Linked DNA regions of Homo sapiens: regions 2 and 3 are each linked to region 1. Evidence: promoter capture Hi-C in human tissues and cell types (Jung and others, 2019). All regions are on one chromosome and are shown on one strand. Each heading gives the region's core, a stretch centred on a gene start or on the middle of the fragment in contact. The rest is flanking DNA. Distances are from core to core; before and after follow the strand shown. Region 1 holds the start of APOBEC3C (apolipoprotein B mRNA editing enzyme catalytic subunit 3C). Region 2 overlaps TAB1 (TGF-beta activated kinase 1 (MAP3K7) binding protein 1). Region 3 has its middle 27 kb from the start of SNORD83B.

Region 1 (4,103 bases), core at 474-2,973:
TTTAGGAAGATTATTTCAAGGATACAATGTACATTCATTCCTCCAAAATATGCTTAGATGAACTTAAATAATCAGAAAGTTGTGTGTGTATGTGTTTCACATTTTCTTGGTCCACACGGAACCCCTTGAGAGGTCCCTGTGGGCCGTGAGCCTGTTTGTAGACACTTGCTTCCACCGCTTGATGTCGCAGACATCGCAGTCCCTGATGTAGGGTCTGGCCCTATGGGGCTTAGTGGGTGTTCTCCCCGTGTGTGGAGATGAGAAATCGTAAAAAGTAAAGACACAAGACAAAGAGATAAAGCGAAAACAGCTGGGCCCGGGGGACCACTACCATCAAGACACGGAGATGGGTAGTGGCCCCAAATGGTTGCGTGCACTGTTATTTATTGCATACAAGACAAGGGGGGCAGGGTAAGGAGGGTGAGTCGTCCAAGTGATTGATAAGGTCGAGCAAGTCACGTGATCATAGGACAGGGGGCCCTTCCCTTATAGGTAGCCGAAGCAGAGAGGGAAGGCAGTATACGTCAGCGTTTTCTTCTATGCACCTATCAGAAAGATCAAAGACTTTAAGACTTTCACTATTTCTTCTACCGCTATCTTCTGAGAACTTCAAAGAGGGACCAGGAGTACAGGAGGAAAGTGGACAAGGAGCGTGACCATTGAAGCACAGCATCACAGGGAGGGGTTTAGGCCTCCGGATGGCTGCAGGCAGGCCTGGATACTATCCAGCCTCCCACAAGAAGCTGGTGGAGCTGAGCGTTCCCTGACTCCTCCAAGAAAAGGGAGACTCCCTTTCGTGGTCCGCTAAGTAACGATGCCTTCCTAGGCACTGGCGTTACCGCCTGACCAAGGAGCCCTCCAGTAGCCCTTATGCGGGTGTGACAGAGGGCTCACCTCTTGCATTCTCGGTCACTTCTCACAACAGCCCTTCAGCACCTGACCCTATACCCACCGGTTATTTCTTGGTTATATTAGTAATACAATAAAGAGTAATATTAAAAGCTAATGATTAATAATATCTACACTAATGATTGATAATGTCCATGATCATCTCTGTATCTAATTTGTATTATAACTATTCTTATTGTAAGTATATTCTTTATTATACTGAAACAGTTTGTGCCTTCAGTCTCTTGCCTCAGCACCTAGGTAATCCTCCGCCCACATCTCTGAGGGGCTGAACTGCCCCCCACCTTCTGGAAGCTGGGAGGTTGGAAGAGGGGATGCGTGCGATGGACTCAGCACACAGCTGGGAACTCGAGGCACACCTAAGCCTTCGCTTGTGCTGTGCGGAGTCCACACTTCCTTCCCCACTGGGGTCTCAAAACCTCCCCTCACTCAACAGGGTGGTGCTGCTCAAAGCTCTGGGCACACATTAGGGCTGGGGAGGGGGTGGTGGAGAGGGGGCTCCAGCCTGCCCAACCACCAGGCAACGGGGCACCTGCCCCTCTCTCAGCTGGGTCTGGACCCGCGTCCCAGGCTCAGGCTGCAATGCCTTTCTCTTTCTCTTTCTCTTCTTTTTGCAGTTCCGTTGGGTCCTGCCCAGGACAGATAAAGACAGAGCAGCCTGTCTTTATCGGAGGTTCCTCTGCCAGTAGGAGGGGCCCGGAGAAAACCAGAAAGAGGGCCAGAGCCAGAGAAACATGAAGCACCCCGGGGCCTCCCACACCAGTGCCTGAGCAGGAATGGGGAGGGGCCATGATTCACAAGGCCCTGGGAGGTCACTTTAAAGAGGGCTGCTCAACTGCAAGGACGCTGTAAGCAGGAAGAGAAGCCACAGCGCTTCAGAAAAGAGTGGGACAGGGACAAGCATATCTAAGAGGCTGAACATGAATCCACAGATCAGGTACCTCTGCACGCTTTGTCCGCCAGGCCCCTCCTGCCACTTCCTGCCAGGCGGTCCTGCTGGGCCTCAGCCCTGGCCTCCCCCTGCCCCAGCCCCACCTCTGGGCTCCCTCCCCCCTGGTTCCCCCGCTGCCCCCACTCCCAGCCAAGCTCCTTGCCCTGCTGTGTGGTCCCACGACTGCTGCTTCTGAATGGGCCACCTTCCCCACTTGCCCCAGCCCAGTCCGCCTGCTGAGACTCTCCCCCGAAAATCATGCCCGGGCTGGTGCTTCCCGCCCTGGGAGGGTGCTTCCTCTGTGTGCTTCCCACTATTCCTGGGAGCTCTGGAACTGGGAGAATTGAACCAAAGGATGATTTGAGCAATCAGGCATTTTGTTCTCAGCGCTTTGGTGCAATTTCTGTAAGATTTACTTTGTTTCAATACAAAGTCTTAGGAGAGGGTGTGGGGGAGGGAATGGTCTCTGTACCAGAAAATAAGTCACTTCTTCCAAAGATGCCTCCACTGTGAGCAGAGTAGGATGCACACGACCCCAGACACAGGCTCCTCCTCTGTGAGCACCGTTCACCTTTCAGAATGACACCTGCAACATGGAGTGTAGGAAAAAATATGATGATCAGGAGAAATGCTCTTATTTTAGGCCAGGCACGGTGGCTTATGCCTGTAATCCTAGCACTTTGGGAGGCTGAGGCGGGCGGGTCACTTGTGGTCAGGAGTTTGAGACCAGCCTGACTAACATGGTGAAACCTCGTCTCTACTGAAAATACAGAAAATTAGCCAGGGGTGCTGGCGGGCGTCTGTAATCCCAGCTACTTGGGAGGCTGAGGCAGGAGAATCCCTTGAACCCGAGGGGTGGAGGTTGCAGTGAGCTGAGATTGCAAACTCCAGCCTGGGGGACAGAGCGAGATGCCGTCTTTAAAAAAAAAAAAAAAAAAGTAGCAGAAAAACTGGGAGGTTGAGGGTGTTCCATTGGTAGCCCCAGAGCTGGGGTTCCAGCTAGGAGAGGTCACCCCGGCCCTGCTGCCCCTGCCAGCGTCCCCTCCTCTTTCTCTCTCCCCGTCTTCCTGCCTGGGAAAGCAGCAGACATTCTCAGGGCTGTGGAGGGATGGGGGAGGCCCAGAGCCCAGGGACGTCCAGGCAGCTGTGTTCAGTGGGCATCAGCCCTGAGGACTCCGGTGCGGGGGTCTCTGCATTGGGGTTTCTCTCTTGTGCCTTCAGAAACCCGATGAAGGCAATGTATCCAGGCACATTCTACTTCCAATTTAAAAACCTATGGGAAGCCAACGATCGGAACGAAACTTGGCTGTGCTTCACCGTGGAAGGTATAAAGCGCCGCTCAGTTGTCTCCTGGAAGACGGGCGTCTTCCGAAACCAGGTAGCACCAAAGTCCTAGTTACACCCTAAATAGGAGCTAAGCAGCTGGGAATGCAGAAAACGCAACAATAAGTGATGTGCCCGGCGTGGGCTCTCCTGTGTGCACTTTCCTGCCACATTTCTATTTTTTTTTTTTTTTTTTTGAGATGGAGTCTCGCTCTGTCACCCAGGCTGGAATGCAGTGGTCTGATTTCAGCTCACGGCAACCTCTGCTTTCCAGGTTCACGCGATTCTCCTGCCTCAGTCTCCCGAGTAGCTGGGATTACAGGCACCTGCCACCATGCCCAGCCAATTCTTTTGTATTTTTAGTAGAAACAGGATTTTGCCATGTTGGCCAGGCTGGTTTCGAACTCCTGACCTCAAGTGATCCACCAGCCTTGGCCTCCCAAAGTGCTAGGATTACATGCGTGAGACACCATGCCCCTGGCCTCCTCCCCACATTATTTATTTATTTATTTATTTATTTTGAGACGGAGTCTTGCTCTATCGCCCAGGCTGGAGTGCAGTGGCACAATCTCAGCTCACTGCAAGCTCCGCCTCCCGGGTTCACGCCATTCTCCTGCCTCAGCCTCCCAAGTAGCTGGGACTACAGGCGCCCACCACCATGCCCAGCTAATTTTTTCTTTTTTTCTTTTTTTTTTTTTTTTTAGTAGAGACGGGGTTTCATGGTGTTAGCCAAGATGGTCTCGATCTCCTGACCTCATGATCCGCCCGCCTTGGCCTCCCAAAGTGCTGGGATTACAGGCATGAGCCACTGTGCCCGGCCTCCCCACATTTTTTAAGTCCATGGCCCAGATCTTCCTCCCTGACTCTCCTGTGATCAGATCGTGGAGGGGGTTTGCTTCCTCCCAAAAGGCCTTGTTTAGCGCCCAGCACCCTCACTCTT
Region 2 (4,103 bases), core at 868-3,367, 390 kb after region 1:
GGAGGAAGAGCTCATGTGATTTGCTGATGGATTGAATGTGAGGTGTGTGACAGAGGAAGAAGAGTCAAAAAGGACTCTTAAGGTTTTGGTTTAAACAACAGTGGTGCCATTTACGGGGTGAGGGAGCCCTGGAAGAGGGGCACCCTGGGGCAGGGGGAATCAAGAGTTTGATTTTGCCTGTACTGTTACTTAATTATAAAAAAGAAAATCAGGCTAGGCATGGTGGCTCATGCCTGGAATCCCAGCCCTTTGGGAGGCTGAGGCAGGAGGATCACTTGAGGCCAGGAGTTCCAGATCAGCTCGGGCAACATAGTGAGATTCAGTCTTTAAAAAAATTAGTGAGGCATGGTGGTATGTGCCTGTAGTACTTAGGAGACTTAATGGGGTGATTGCCTGAGCCCAGAAGTTTGAGGTTGTAGTGAGGCTATGATCCCCTCACTGCACTCCAGGCTGGGTGACACAGCAAGACCTGTTTAAAAAAAAAAAAAGAAAGTAAGCTTAAAATCAATTTTTTAAACTTCGACATGTCCTGAGCAATTATATCTGAGATCATAGGTGCTGCTATCTGTGTAATTTATCTAAAGGATGTTAAAATAAATACATAGCCACTAAAATAAAAAGGTCCATGGGGGTACCACCTATACCCATTGCATACACCCAGCTGCTGCCCTAGCACATTGGAAGTGCCAACAATGATTATTAGCCCCTTTAAGAATGAATGAGGAGCTCTTTAGGATGACGACATGGAGAACCTTCAATGAAAACTCCGGTGGGAGAAGTGGGGGCCAGGAGTGGAGCTGGTCTCAGAGAAGTGGGTCATCCGGAAGGTTGGAGGTGGTGGGGGCATTGGGGCCTTGGAAGCTTTTTGGAGAGAAAGGTCTGCTGCTCCCCTGCTCCGAGCCCTCTTCCTGGGGTTGTGAGTCTCCCTTTCTGAGCTTCCTTTTTGCTTCTAAGGAATGTGGGTGCTTTTACCACAAAAACACTTGGCCTTTTCATAGCATAATTTGGTATTCAAGCTGTGGCCTGAGCTTGGAACCATTCTTTGTCCATTTCTGCTGCCCAGGACTTTGAGATGAGTCTGTGTGGGTACTTTGTGAACTATTATGTGACATGGACACATATATACATGAGGAGTGAATGCTTACATCATGCACAGGGTGTTTGTAAAGGCCTTGTTGGGTTAAATACTGTTGGATCACTGTAGAAGCTTTTCATACCGAAACATTAATTTTGGAAACTCCTTCACAAAATCAAATCAAAATTAGGTCTTTTGAAACAGGCTTCTTAACGTATTCTTGTGAAATTTCTCATGAGCAGTTCATTTCTCAGACATGGAAGAGTTAAGTCCTGCGTTCGCTGTTGTGTGTGTTGCAGTGGCTCCGCGATGAGGCTGTGCTGAGTGAGAGACGCCCCCTTCTCAGCTTCTCGCAGACTCTTGCTCCCTGCGCTCCAGCGCCGCTCACGGCTGGTGCTGGCAGGCCTGGCATTTGGGGGCGTGGGAGAAAGTATGCATCAGTGTGTGCAGGGGTGGAGGGGTGGGTGGTTTGTGTGAATAGAAAGTACATGACCTTTCTGAAAATTGTTCAGAAATGTGGAGGAAGGAAGCGAGAGACTTGGCAGTCCTGTAGGCTTTAATGGAATCAGCAATGGACGCTCGGTATGGCTAATCCTCGATGGAGATGGAAAGGGACGGGAGAACACGATCCAAGCCTACTCAGCTGCAGCAGCGTGAGTCCGCTGGGGAACACGGAGAAGACCAGATACTCTCACTCCCACTTGGTAGAACCTCCTGAGGTTCTCCGGCCACTGTAGTGAACCAGTGTCTGGCGAGCGCCCGAATTACGTGAGAAACTGCCCATGTGTCATTGGATCTAAGACACCAATGTTTTAAGGACACGTCAGTGTTTTGTCTATTGCTCAGAAAGAGAACTCACAGCTAATTAACTTGTAACATACCAACTCCAGAGACGTTAACATGTGGAAAATGTAGGTCTTCAAATCAGTGAAATAAGGTAATCTAATTAACAATACCAGGCTATAGCACAATGGTTGCCACAGGGCCACTTTGGGAGGCCAAGGCGTGTGGATCACAAGGTCAGGAGTTCAAGACCAGCCTGGCCAAGATGGTGAAACCACGTCTCTACTAAAAATACAAAAAATTAGCCGGGCATGGTGGCACGCACCTGTAATCCCAGCTACTCCAGAGGCTGAGGCAGAGAATTGCTTAAACCTGGAGGGGCAGAGCTTGCAGTGAGCCAAGATCGCGCCACTGCACTCCAGCCTGGGCGACAGAGTGAGACTGTCACCAAAAAAAAAAAAAAAAAAAAAGGAATCATTTGAGTGAAAGATAGTTTCTTGAAGATGGTCAGTGGATGATTGAGGTTTGGGAATCATGGGCCTCTGGCCCTAGTTGGATTTGAGCAGTGCCTTTAGGGTAGATAGGACTTAAAAAGACAGAAAGGGACAGGCTTTGCCTTACCATGGGTACTTTTACATATGCTCTTTGGGTAATTTTTTTCTTACTCTTTCTTTATTTTTTTTTAATTTATTTTTTATTTTTGAGACGGAGTCTTGCTGTGTCGCCCAGGCTGGAGTGCAGTGGCGCCATCTCGGCTCACTGCAAGCTCTGCCTCCCGGGTTCACACCATTCTCCTGCCTCCGCCTCTGGAGTAGCTGGGACTACAGGCACCCACCACCACGCCCACCTAATTTTTTTGTATTTTTAGTAGAGACGGGGTTTCACCGTGTTAGCCAGGATGGTCTCAATCTCTTGACCTCATGATCTGCCCGCCTTGGCCTCCCAAAGTGCTGGGATTACAGGCGTGAGCCACTGCGCCCGGCCTCTGGTCACAGTTTTTTAGAGATTGTTTGGAACAGTGAGTAGAAGGCCTTGTCTGTACAAGATACACAGCTGAGTGAGATTGTTAATCTGTCAAAGGGCAAAATTCAAAACTTTCGACAGTCTGGAAGGCTGGGATGAATGCATTAAGATGTAATTCGACTGATATAAATTTAGATTTAAAACAACCTTCTATAGTAGTTTGGCTGGGGGAGACAGACATGGTAGAAACTCACAGGAAAAGGACTTTGTTATTTTACATTACATAGAGGCTAGATGCTCATCTTCTCTTGGGTATATGAAAGCTGTTGATTTGCATACTTTGATTTTCTATCCTGCCGCCTAACTGATTTCTTTTTCTGTTTGCATTAGTTTTTCATTGATTCTTTAGGGTTGCCAGGCGTACTGTCCTATCAACTGCAAATAGAAATGACTTCTTTCCCGGTTTTTATGCTCTCATTCTTTACTCTGTCTAACTGCCTGGGCTAACACCTCCAGTTCTGTGTGAAGTAATAGAGTGGGCAGCCTTGCTATGGCCCTGATCATTTGTTGTTGTTTTGTTTTTTTTTTTTGAGAGGGAGCCTCACTCTGTCTCCCAGGCTGGAGTGCAGTGGCGTGATCTCGGCTCACTGCACGCTCTGCCTCCCGGGTTCCAGCGATTCTCCTTCCTCAGCTTCCCGATAGTAGATGGGACTACAGGCGTCTGCCACCACGCCCGGCTAATTTTTTGTATTTTTAGTAGAGACGGGGTTTTGCTGTGTTAGCCAGGATGGTCTCGATCTCCTGACCTCGTGATTCGCCGGTCTCGGCCTCCTAAAGTGCTCAGATTGCAGGTGTGAGCCACCGTGCCCAGCCTAATTTTTTGTATTTTTAGTAGAGACGGGTTTTCACCATGTTAGCCAGGATGGTCTCAATCTCTTGACCTCGTGATCTGCCCGCCTCAGCCTCCCAAGGTGCTGGGATTACAGATGTGGGCCACCATGCCCAGCCCTATGGCCCTGATCTTAATGAAGTGTTCCCCACTGAGTAAGTTGCCAGCATTAGGGCTGAAGTATACAGAGTAGCATGTTCAGAAAGGAGCCATCAGTTTCTGTTTTCTGGAGTGTTTTTACCAAGAATGGACCAAGACTCCTTAGATAAACAATAGCACTAGTGTCCATACTTACTGACCCAAACACCATTTGCCAGTTTATAAAATAATAAATTCCAGAAATATTACTGCCTCAACATTATGAAAATCAGATTTCCTAAAAAAGTACTTAGC
Region 3 (4,103 bases), core at 972-3,471, 270 kb after region 1:
CAACCATGGCGGTAAACCCTTGTCACGCTCCTATTTACCACACACTTCCTCGGCACCAGACTCCATGTGTGTCATCTCATTTCATCCTCATGACAACCTTATGAGGCGAGTCCTACTACGGTCACCATGTGCAGATGAAGCCCTTGAGGCAAAGACGGGCCTTGACATATGGCTGGTGAGTCTGATCCCAAAGCCCGTGTTCTTAACCCAGCCTGCAGGCACTGGTGGCGACTTTGTTGGTCATGGAGGGTGTTCCAGTTATCCATTGCTATGCTGCAAATGATCCCAAAATTTAGTGGCTTAAAACAAGAGCAATCATTTGTTTCTCTCACAGATCTGCAAGTCAAGCCAGATGCCGCAAGAAGGCACAGCACTGCTCTATGAGGCATCAGCTGGGGCAACTTGAGTGGGAGCTGGAGGTCCCATTGGCTCTACTGGGGCTGACAGCTGGCAGGGGTAGAGGGTCCTCTGTTCCTTCCCACACCGGCCTTTCCATGGGGCTGTTGAGCTTCCTCACAGCATGGTGGCTGAGTCCCAAGAGGTGGGAAGTAGAAGTTGCAGTTTTTTATGGCCTGGGTCCAGAAACTGACACAGCCTCACTGGCAACATATTGATCAAGCATCCACGGAGCCCAGATTCAAGGAAAAAGGACATAGACTCCCATCTTTCAAGAAGAGGAGTGTCAAATAATTGGGGGAAGAGCATGTTCTAAAACCACCAGAATAAGAATGGAGGGGACTCCAAGGCAGGCGACCAGTATCTAATGCAGAGCCTCCTGCCCTGTTCCAGACCTCAGAACTCCAGCCAGGGCCACAAGTCAGCCTAGTGCAGACCATAGACCACCCCACCCACCCCTGCTCATTTCCTTTACATTTTTTTCTTTCTTTCTTTTTTTTTTTTTTTTTTTTTTTGAGACAGTCTCACACTGTTGTCCGAGCTGGAGTGCAGTGGCACTATCTCGGCTCATTGCAACCTCTGCCTTCCAGGTTCAAGTGATTCTCCTGCCTTAGCCTCCCCAGTAGCTGGGATTACAGGTGTCCACCACCAAACCCGGCTAATTTTTTTTTTTTTTTTTTTTTTTGTATTTTTAGTAGAGATGGGATTTCACTATGTTGGCCAGGCTGGTCTTGAACTCCTGACCTTGTGATCTGCCCACCTCGGCCTCCCAAAATGCTGTAATTACAGGCGTGAGCTGCCGTACCTGGCTTTTTTCTTTTCTTTTCCTTTTCTTTCCTTTTTTCTTTCTTTCTTTCTTTTTTTCTCTCTCTCTCTTTCTTTCTTCTTCTTTCTTTCTTCTTTCTTTTTTTTTGAGATGGTCTCACTCTGTCACCCAAGCTGGAGGGCAGAGGCACAATCTTGGCTCATGGCAGCCTCAACCACCCCAGCTCAAGCAATCCTCCTACCTCAGCCTCCCCAGTAGCTGGAACCATAGACATGCACCACCACACCCAGCTAATTTCTTTTTTCACGTATTTTTTGTAGAGACGGAGTTTAACCATGTTCTCCAGGCTGGTCTTGAACTCCTGGTCTCAAGGGATCCACCTGCCTCGGCCTCCCAAAGTGCTGGGATTACAGGCTCTGTTCACATTTTTGTGTGTGTGTGCCAAGCACAGAGGGGCCACTGTGTGCAGCTACAGAGGCCCAGCTGGCCTGGCACCTCGGCTGGAAAGGGGCAGCCTCTGGGTAGAAGAGCTGGGTGCCCAGGTGGGGAAGGCATTTCACTCACCCCCTGCCAGAGCTCCCTTGGAGCCCCAGAGTTCCAGGCTCCTGGGTCCTATCTCCTCTGCTTTCTCCAAGCCCATTCCAGGGAAACAGAAACCCAGACAGGGCTTGGAAGATGTCACTCCTGGGTCCTGAAGTGAGACCCCAGAATAGATGTTCTCCTGAGGTCCCCTCTCCTGAAGTTTTATAATTCTGGGGTTGGAAGTGTCCCATGCTGTAAAATCCAAAAGTCTGTTTCCCTGCTTCTCTTTTTCTTATTTATTTATTTATTTTGAGATAGGGTCTCACTGTGTCACCAAGGCTGAATAGCAGTGGTGCAACCATGGCTCACTGCAGCTGTGAACTCCTGAGCTCAAGTGATCTTCCCACCTCGGCCTCCCAAGTAGCTGGGACTACAGGCATGCGCCACCACACCTGGCTAACTTTTGTATTTTTTATAGAGACGAGGTCTCCCTGTGTTGCCCAGACTGGCCTTAAACTCCTGGGCTCAAGCGATCCTTGCACCTTGGCCTCCCGAAGTGCAAGGATTACAGGCATGAGCCACTGCACCAAACCTTCTCTCCTTCTTAAGATTCTGAGTTTCTGTTTTGACTCTATTTGACAGCATCAGTCAAATTGCAAACGGGCTTACCCTTTGACCCAGCAATTCTCCTTCTAAGGAATCTTCCAGCCTCCAGAAGTCATCAAGCATGTGCAGAAGAGACAAGGCAAAAGTGTTCACAGTGGCTTCTTGTGTAACCAAGGAAAACTGGGAGCTGCCCCCATCTGCACCAATGGCCAGAGCAATTTATGGAACGTTTACGGAACACCGCGTCTGGTATGTGCCTATGAAACTTCTGCATTCAACAGACAAAACTTCTGCATTCAAAACACCACATTTCAAAACAAAACTTCTGCATTCAGCATGCCACAGTCATGTGTGGAGAGCAGAGAGGAACCCTGGAGGGAGGAGCTGCAGACGGAGCAGGGCCGTGGGGCAGGTGTCTACTGGTTTCCTGTAATAAATTACCATACACTTGGTGGTGGAAATAACAGGCATTTATTCTCATAGCTCTGGAGGCTAGAAGTCCAAAATCAAGGTGTCTACAGGGCCATGCTGCCTCCACAGCTCCAGGGGGCAATCTTTCAGCTTCTGGGGACTCCCGGGTTCCTTGGCCTGTGACCGCACTGTTCAATCCCTGCCTCTGACTTCACAGGGCCCTTTCCTCTCCTGAGTCTCTGTTTGCAAATCTCCCATCCCTTTCTCTTGTAAGAACACTCTAACTGGATTTAGGATCCACCCCAACCCAGGGTGACCTCATTCTGAGATCCATACTCTAATTACATCTGCAAAAATCCTTATTCCAAATAAGGTCACGTTCTGAGGTGCAGAATAGACATGAATTTTGGGGAGATCCTTTTCAACCCACAACAATGTGGAAGGCCAATGTGTCTTCTCCATCATTTGGTCCTGCTGCAAGGAGGGTGTGTTTCTGGACCTGTGTATTATTTGTGTATCATTTCATTTATGCCTAGTGTTCCATTATTGGGAATTATTTCTGTCCTCCTTCTCAAGGTCATTGCCAAGGTCTGATTGCAAAAGTTTTAAAAATTGCAACTTAAGGCATAAATGGGTTAATTTTTTTTTTTTTTTTTTTTGAGACAGGGTGTCTGTTACCCAGGCTGGAGTGCAGTGGCACAGTCATGGCTCACTGCAGCCTTGGCCTCCTGGGTTCAAATGATCCTCCCACCGCAGCCCTGCTGAGTAGCTGAAACTATAGACATTCGCCACCACACTCGGCTAATTTTCTTTAATTTATTTTTTGTAGTGATGGAGTCTCACTCTGTTGCCCAGGCTGGTCTCAAACTCCTGGGCTCAAGCGATCCTCCCTCTTCAGCCTCCCAAGTAGCTAGGATTTCAGGTATGCACCACCACGCTTGGCTAATTTTTAAAATTATTTTAGAGACAGGGTCTCACTATGTTGCCCATTCTAGTCTGGAACTCCTGGCCTCAAGCGATCCTCCCACCTCAGCCTCCCAAAGTGCTGGGATTACAGGCATGAGTCACTGTGTCTGACCTCATTTTAACTTTCAAAAAGTTCTAAAATCCCAGAAGACAAGTTGTCTTCAAAGATCCTCTGCCTCCCAGGGTCAATGACTCCAGTTTTCTGGGAGGCCCAGGGGGCCCCTCGGCAATGAGGTGGAAATCGTCAGCATGGCAGGGTGGACGCCTCTGATACCTGCCCTGCTGACCAGGCTGGAAGTTGCTGTGGCATCCTCAGGCCTCCAGATGGTGAGCCTCCCTGAGTCAATGGCGAGGTGATGGCCGACGTTCCCAGCCCAGCACTTGCTCCGGGTAGGAGCTGGGCACCTTGGAGCATGGCAGGGCTAGGGAGTGGGGG

What was found. The method cuts DNA at HindIII sites, captures the fragments that hold promoters and counts their contacts. A contact is called where the count stands out against the background at its distance.
Region 2: a contact is called between a fragment that was not itself captured here and the fragment with the promoter of APOBEC3C in region 1, in 2 of the 25 tissues and cell types used here (adrenal gland and dorsolateral prefrontal cortex).
Region 3: a contact is called between a fragment that was not itself captured here and the fragment with the promoter of APOBEC3C in region 1, in 2 of the 25 tissues and cell types used here (dorsolateral prefrontal cortex and spleen).

Annotation. Positions count from the first base shown.
Region 1 is chr22:39,012,534-39,016,636 of GRCh38, forward strand. APOBEC3C (apolipoprotein B mRNA editing enzyme catalytic subunit 3C) reads left to right here and starts at 1,724. Exons shown (of 4, transcript NM_014508.3): 1 at 1,724-1,846; 2 at 3,062-3,218. The coding sequence starts at 1,830. RefSeq lists enhancers at 936-1,554, 1,531-1,825, 1,555-2,172, 1,745-1,854 and a silencer at 1,965-2,014. The HindIII fragment of the contact is 14,453 bases long and covers 1-4,103 here.
Region 2 is chr22:39,404,091-39,408,193 of GRCh38, forward strand. The region is part of intron 1 of TAB1 (TGF-beta activated kinase 1 (MAP3K7) binding protein 1); the gene reads left to right. Among named protein-coding and RNA genes, the nearest start is that of TAB1, 6.4 kb to the left of the region's middle. The HindIII fragment of the contact is 6,290 bases long and covers 1-4,103 here.
Region 3 is chr22:39,284,682-39,288,784 of GRCh38, forward strand. No RefSeq gene overlaps it. Among named protein-coding and RNA genes, the nearest start is that of SNORD83B, 27 kb to the right of the region's middle. The HindIII fragment of the contact is 9,215 bases long and covers 1-4,103 here.